2 separate regions of the Homo sapiens genome follow, and region 1 is linked to region 2. Evidence: promoter capture Hi-C in 16 types of primary human blood cells and fetal thymus (Javierre and others, 2016). All regions are on one chromosome and are shown on one strand. Each heading gives the region's core, a stretch centred on a gene start or on the middle of the fragment in contact. The rest is flanking DNA. Distances are from core to core; before and after follow the strand shown. Region 1 overlaps SCUBE1 (signal peptide, CUB domain and EGF like domain containing 1). Region 2 holds the start of SCUBE1 (signal peptide, CUB domain and EGF like domain containing 1).

Region 1 (3,547 bases), core at 512-3,011, 120 kb after region 2:
CAGCCCAGGATAGAAGAGGCAGCCCAGGGCAATGAGACAGAAGAGCCGAGGTGACCTCAAAAGTCACATGACCCTTATCTGCCCCTCCACACTCCTGCTGGGACCCGGGAGGACAAATAGGTGCAGCCCCCCTAGAATGGTTGAGCCAAGGATTGTCTTTCCTGGTTCCTGAAGGAGGTTCTAATGCTGGCTCGGGTGTCACAGCAGCACTTTGCTCTTGGCTATATGTGAGTGTCAACCTGTGAGTCGTTGATGTTGAAGAGATGGGATCTGTCAGCAGATAAGTGTGGTATGGGCCTGGCTGTGGGCTTGGGCGCTGTGGAAAGAAAAGTCCCCACCCAGGTAACACTCTCAGCCAGAGAGGCAGACGCACGTGCAAACCACCCATTGCCAGGTGGGACTCTCGGTGGTGGGGGCACAAGAACAAACAATGCATAGAACTGAGGTCTGCCCCCCACGGGAGGGCTTAGGAAATGTCTTAGTCTGGCTGGGCACACTGGCTCACGCCTGTAATCCCAGCAGTCTGGGAGGGCCAAAGTGGGTGGATCACTTGAGTTCAGGAGTTCAAGACCAGCCTGGCCAACATGGTGAAACCCTGTCTCTACTAAAAATACAAAAATTAGCCAGGTGTGGTGGCAGGCACCTGTAATCCCAGCTACTCAGGAGGCTGAGGCAGGAGAATCGCTTGAACCTGGGAGGCAGAGATTGCAGTGAGCTGAGATCGCGCCACTGTGCTCCAGCCTGGCGACGAGTGAGACTCTATCTCAAAAAAAAAAAAAGGAAATGTTTTAGTCTATTTGCGTTGCTAAAAGGAACACCTGAGGCTGCATAATTTATCAGGAAAAGAGCTTATTGGCTCTCGGCTCTGCAGGCTGTCCGAGAACACGGCAGCAGCATCTGCCTGGCGAGGCCTTAGGCTGCTTCTGCTCACGGAGGAAGGTGAAGAGCAGCTGGCATCACATAGCAAGAGTAAGGGAGCAAGAGAGAGGGGAGGGGGTGCCTATGTCTTCACCAGTCACATCTCGTGGCGACTAGTAGAGCCAGCAAGAACTGACTACCACACCAGGCCATTCATGAGGGACCTACCCCATGACCCAGACACCTCCCACCAGGCCCCACCCCCAGCATTAGGGATCAGATTTCAACATGAGGTTTGGAAGAGACAAATATTGAAACCATATCAGGAAGCTTTCCCAGAAGAGGTGCCATTTGAATGAGAGCTTAGAATCAAAGCTCACTGGGTGGAAAAGGTGGCAAGGAATGGCATTCAGGCAGAGGGAATAGAATAGGCAAAGGCACAGAGGTCAGAGAGAGGAGGAGGTGTCCAGGAAGCAGTAAGTAGGGCCAGGTGGCTAGACATTGGAATCCACAGGGAGTGTCAGAGTGGAGGGGATGAGGCTGGCAAGGCCATACGGGGCTGGACCTTGAAGGGCCTTGGATTCAAGGCCAGAGAGCTGGACACTATCCTGGGGACAGTGGCAGTCCCCAAGAGTCTTTGAGTGACAGAAAGGCGTTCTTGCCCCGTGAGTCGTACCCTGGGGGGTGATGTGGTGCAGTGGCAGCTGCCTGGATTGCACTCAGATCTGCTGCGTGGCCGTGGGCAGGCCCTGCCTCCCAGGTCCGCAGCCTCCTCATCTGTCAGATGGGCATGACAGTGGCCCCTTGCCCCAGGACTGTTGTGAGAATGTGCTGAGGAGGTCCGAGCCCAGTGCAGGGCCTGGCACGGGGGAGCCCTCAGCTAAGAAGGCAGCGGCTAGCAAGGTTGCCAGCGATTCATGTTCTGTCTCTCCTGCCCCTGCAGACACATGCGAAGCGGACTGCTTGCGGAAGCGAGCAGAACAGAGCCTGCAGGCCGCCATCAAGACCCTGCGCAAGTCCATCGGCCGGCAGCAGTTCTATGTCCAGGTCTCAGGCACTGAGTACGAGGTAGCCCAGAGGCCAGCCAAGGCGCTGGAGGGGCAGGGGGCATGTGGCGCAGGCCAGGTGCTACAGGACAGCAAATGCGGTGAGTCCTTGCCCATGGCCACTCAGATGCTGACTCTGTCCTTCCTTGCACATGAGCCGGGGTAAACAGTGGTGGGCACGCAGGTGAGACAGACACCTGGGGAGGGGACAGAGAGATGCAGAGGCCTGCCGGGGAGAAGGACTGCAGCCCTCATGGTCATCACTGTCATTTGAAGAGCACTCCTCTGTGCTGGGCCTCGGGCATGTGATCACAGTCTGAGGAGGGACAAGGAGTGGACAGGACAGCAAGGCCACAGTCGAGGGGCGCGAGGGGGCACGGGAACCAGAACAGGCCCTCTCTAGTCTGGGATGTGGTTCAGGGAAGCTTCCTGGAGGAGAAGTCACGTTAGCTAAGACCTCAGGGCTCCAGGAGTTGGGGAGCCTGAGTCAGGGTCGGGGGACAGAGCAGGGATGTCGTGAGGCCTAGGGCCGCCCAGGAGGGCAGCGTCGTGCTGCAGGGAAGCAGGTGAGGCCGGCCCCCAGCGGGCGGGTGTGCGCTGGAGGGGAGAGCCTGGACGCAGGACAGGCAGAACCAGCACACGAGACAGTCCTAGTTCTAGTGGAGCTCACATGCCCGTGCGGAAGATGGACAGTGGGCCAGTGAACATGCCCACAGGTACAGTGAGGCCAGAGGTGATGGGGCCTGGCAGACACCACTCTTGAGTTGGATGGGGAGCCATAGGAATGCTTAGAGCAAGGACGCAGGCTCATGCGCGCTCTTACGGGAAGGCTGAGTAGCGGGGGCGGAGCAAGGACGGGGAGGAGCATGAGATGGAGGGGGCTCCTAGGGAGAGACAGACTTCAAGGACGACTCCAAGGGTTTGGCCAATTGGGCAGAGGTGGTATCGCTTCCTGACGCCGGCCAAATCCCCAAGGATTTGAGGAAGAGTGGGCTGGGGGGAGGGAAACTTGATGAAGAGTGGGCTGCGGGGATGGGGTGCGCAGGCTGGACATGTTCAGTCTGAGACGCTCACAAGTCATCCACATGGAGATGTTGGATGGGCAGTTGCAGCCACAAGTCCGAAGCCTCAAACAATAGGGTTGGCCAGGGGTGTAAACTGGGAAGCCGGAGGAGAAGAAATGATACCTGGCGGGGGAGGAGGGAAGCTGTTGGAGAAGAGGTGACACCTGGCGGATGGGGGGTGGGGGTTGGGGGAAGCTGTTGGTAAAGAGGTGACACCTGGCAGGGTGGGGAAGCTGTTGGTAAAGAGGTGACACCTGGCGGGGTGGGGAAGCTGTTGGTAAAGAGGTGACACCTGGCGGGGTGGGGGGAAGCTGTTAGAGAAGAGGTGACGGCAGTGTTGGGGGAAGCTGTTGGAAAAGAGGTGACACCTGGCAGTGGGGGTGGGAGGGAAGCTGTTGGTAAAGAGATGACACCTGGCGGGGGGTGGGTGGGGGGAAGTTGTTGATAAAGAGGTGACACCTGGAGAGGGCGGGGAAGCTGTTGGTAAAGAGATGACACCTGGCAGGGGAAGGGCCAGGTTGGGGAAGCTGGGACTCTGGCTCAGACAGTGGAGGGGGACAGCCGTACTGACAAGGGGGG
Region 2 (3,518 bases), core at 888-3,387:
CAGAAGTGACCTCCTCTTTCTCTGCTCCACAGGCCGCCTCCTTTCCTTCACCTGTGAGGGGCTTACAGGTGTGTCTTCTCTCCATTTCCCTCCTCCTCTGCTCGCTGAGTCCTCCACATAGACAACAGCTGCCTAGAAGGAACCACTTTCTCTCTGCCTGCACACCTTAGAGGGTGATAATTCACCAGCAAACTTGACCTGAGCAATCGCTTGGGGGCAGGCTGGGGACTACAACTTGGTACAAGGGACAGCTACCTCTGGGCTGAGGGGTCACAGAGTAACCTGCCTCCATTCCTGCCTTGATTTGTGGGGATGGAGCCTGGAAGAAGCTTCTCTTGCTGCCATCAAGCTTGAGGGGCACCTGGCTAGGGCTGGGCGGGGGGGTGCCTAATGACCAGGCACATTAGAGGGCATTGTTTCAAGTAGGTCAGAGCCCCCTGGAAGAACCTCCCCCACCACCTCACACTGCTTGCCCTGTTGCCCAATGCACAAGATAATATGTGGTTCTGAGGGAACTCCCCACCCCCTGCAGAAACTCAAAGCTACACAATTGACGGGGACAAAATAAAGCCTGTCAACAGCATCTCCCAAATTAAACCAGCAGCCAGGAGCAGCCGTGCAGACCGAAATGTCTGGAGCAATGGGGTGGGGGCTCAGTGGAGACAACAGGCAGCGCTTCCTTCTTCTTTGGGCATCTCTGGACCCCCCACACCCCCGATCCCCATGTAGGGGACCCCTTGCCTCAGCCACCAGGCCCGTGCCACAAGCTGATGTGAAGTCAGATGGGGTGTGAGAGCTGGCTGGACACAGATTTAACCTTCCAGGGCTGAGGAGCTCGTCTACGGTAGGTTGGATGAGGGCGTGAAGAAGCATGTGTGAGCGTGTGTGTGCTGGAGGGTGTGAGGGTGTGAGGCTGTGTCTGAGTGATTGCACGTGAGAGCATGTGTCTGCATGTGTGACTGTGTGTGTGTGTGTGTGTGTGTGTGTGTGTGTGTGTGTGCGTGTGTGTGTTGGGGGCAGGAAAGGGAGCTGGTGTGGAGGGGCTCAAACTGGTGCAGGCAGAGTGGACAAAAAGAGAAAAGAGTTGTCTTTGAGTTGGGCCTGGAGAGCAGGAGAAGAAAAAAGGAGCTCTTATTGGTGGTTGTCAAGGAGATGGGCCTTGGGGTTTGCTGAACTTTCGTCCCTTAAAGCGTCCTGCCTGGAACTGAGAGGGGCCATTTATTTCCAGCCGCCCGTCCCTCCCAGGCCCGGTGGGACCAGACCCGAAGCCAACCCTCGCCAGGCGTCAGGTGTAGACCCCAGGCCAGGCCAGAGCAGTTCCTGGGTCTTCGGACCGGGATGCCCGCCCTGCCCCTCCTCCTGGCCCCGCCCGGTCTGTCACAGGGGGAGGCCTCGGCCTCGCATTCCGGGCAGCGAACTTCGCCGGCCGAGGTTAGCCCCGTGCGGGGGCCTCCCGCGGGACCGACCGCCAAGCGGCATTGTCCGTCCCGGGCGCCCGCCCGGTTCCAGACGCAGGTCCTGCGGCCGCCCCGTGACAAGCACACTGACGGGCCACTGTCCTTTGACGAGTGCTAAAAAGTTCGTTTGTTTTGAACGTCAATTTTCAAGTGATCTTCACGAGGTTTCCCCTCCCGGTTCCTTCGCTGCTGCCTCGCCCGCACTCGGTCCCCAGTAGGTGCTCAAGAAACGTCCAGCAAACGGCAGCGCAGGCGAGTCTGCTCTGCGCGCTGGCGCGTTTCACTGCCCACGGATGGCGGGCGACCTCACGGGATCCCCGGTTCGCAGGATCCCCGCCCCCGAGGCTGCCTCTGGGCCGGGAGGGGTTACCCCAGAGGGGCGTCCACTCTCGACGGCGGGGGCCGGGGCGCCGCGGGCAGGGGAGGGCGCAGCCTCCAAGCAGCCCCAGCCTGGCCTAGACCCCGCGCCTAGCGAGCCGGCCGGCCAGGCCCACACCCCCCACCTGCCGCCCGCCCCAGGGGAAGGGTCCCCCCGACGACGCCCGAGCCCCCCTCTTCCTCGGAGGGCCGGAGGCCGGCGCCCATTGGCCGGCCCTGGGCGACGCCCCGCCCCTCCGACGCCACGGGCCAATGAGCGCGCGCTGTCAGCTCATCAGCCGGGCTGGCTGGGCGGCTCGGGAGCCCGAGCGGTGGCGGAGCGGCGAGCAGCGAGCAGCGCCTGCGGGAGCGGCCGGTCGGTCGGGTCCCCGCGCCCCGCACGCCCGCACGCCCAGCGGGGCCCGCATTGAGCATGGGCGCGGCGGCCGTGCGCTGGCACTTGTGCGTGCTGCTGGCCCTGGGCACACGCGGGCGGCTGGCCGGGGGCAGCGGGCTCCCAGGTAAGCCCCCGACCGAGGTGGGGGGCGGCGGGCGCGGGGGGCTCGGGCGGCCGAGGCGCGGTCCCGGAGGGCTTCTTCCCCGCGGATCCCGAGCTCGCCCCGCGCGGCCCCGCGCCCCCTGCCTCTTTGCAAAGTAACTTCTAGGGCCGGCCCGGGGCGCCCCCTCCCCGCAGCCCGGGCGGCCGGGGCTCCTGAGTCCGGCGGGGCCGCACCAGGGGTGGGTGGGCCGGGGCCCCGGGAGGGGAAGCGCGAGCGCGGGAGCGAGGAAGAAAGGCGGCGGTTCCCGGGGACCCCGCGTGCGGACCTGGGCGGGGCGGGACCCCGAGCGCAGAGGGGCGCTCCTCCTGGGAGAGGGGGCGCGGGGCGGGGCGGGCGGAGGGGGACACGCCAGGAGGTGGACGGGGAAAGGGACGGACCGAGAGACCGGGACGGGGCGGGAGGTGCGGGACAGACGGACAGAAGAGCCGGCGCCGAGGGAGCAGACAAAAGGAAGCCCGGAGAAAAGACAGATGCGGAAGGGTAGAGAGGAGGCCCGCACCGCCCGGGGAAGGAGGAGGAGGCCGGTGGATCAGGGGGAATCAAGAGGGATGGTCCCACCGATGATAAGGGAGAGAGAGAGGAGGAGACGGGGGACAGATGGACGCCGCAGAAAAACGGGGTTGGGGGGGGCGGTGAGAGGGAGACCGGGAAAGAGAGAGGGACAGAGATACCTGGAAAGCCGCAGACGAGGGACCGGGACCGTCTGACAGGACGGGGAGGAAAGACAGAGGGAAGGAAGGCAGAGGATCCGGAGGACAGACACAGGGAGGAGAGTCCGGACGCGGGACGTCGGTGGAGCAGACCCAGGAAGGGGAGGGGGAGACCCGGAGGCCACAGGCCCAGGCCCGTGGGTTTCACGGGGACCCCCCCACCCTCCCACCCGGTCCCCTCCTGCTCTCTGTCTTCAGGGGCTTCCCGAAAAGCTGGAGTCACATTCTCCCCTCCTCGTCATCAGAGGCGCTTCCTCCGGTGCTCTGCTTGGAGGGGGAGGCAGGGGGAGGGTCCTGCACGTCCTTCCCGGCTTCCTGAGGTCTGGTATGGGTGGCGTAGGGTCTATTCCTGGTGGTCCCGCGTGCCCCGAGTGAGGATGCTGGGCCTGTGAGACTCTTCCACAGCAACACCCCTCCTGGAAGCCCAGCCCTGC

Evidence for each region. Contacts are between HindIII fragments. The CHiCAGO score rates a contact against its expected background, and 5 or more counts as called.
Region 1: a fragment that was not itself captured here is called in contact with the fragment with the promoter of SCUBE1 in region 2 in 2 of 17 cell types (activated CD4 T cells and total CD8 T cells); the score reaches 5.6 in activated CD4 T cells.

The regions. Positions count from the first base shown.
Region 1 is chr22:43,216,713-43,220,259 of GRCh38, reverse strand. SCUBE1 (signal peptide, CUB domain and EGF like domain containing 1) reads left to right here. Exons shown (of 22, transcript NM_173050.5): 15 at 1,802-2,005. Among named protein-coding and RNA genes, the nearest start is that of SCUBE1-AS2, 5.8 kb to the right of the region's middle. RefSeq lists an enhancer at 1-13. The HindIII fragment of the contact is 1,141 bases long and covers 1,191-2,331 here.
Region 2 is chr22:43,341,991-43,345,508 of GRCh38, reverse strand. SCUBE1 (signal peptide, CUB domain and EGF like domain containing 1) reads left to right here and starts at 2,137. Exons shown (of 22, transcript NM_173050.5): 1 at 2,137-2,335. The coding sequence starts at 2,248. The HindIII fragment of the contact is 3,211 bases long and covers 352-3,518 here.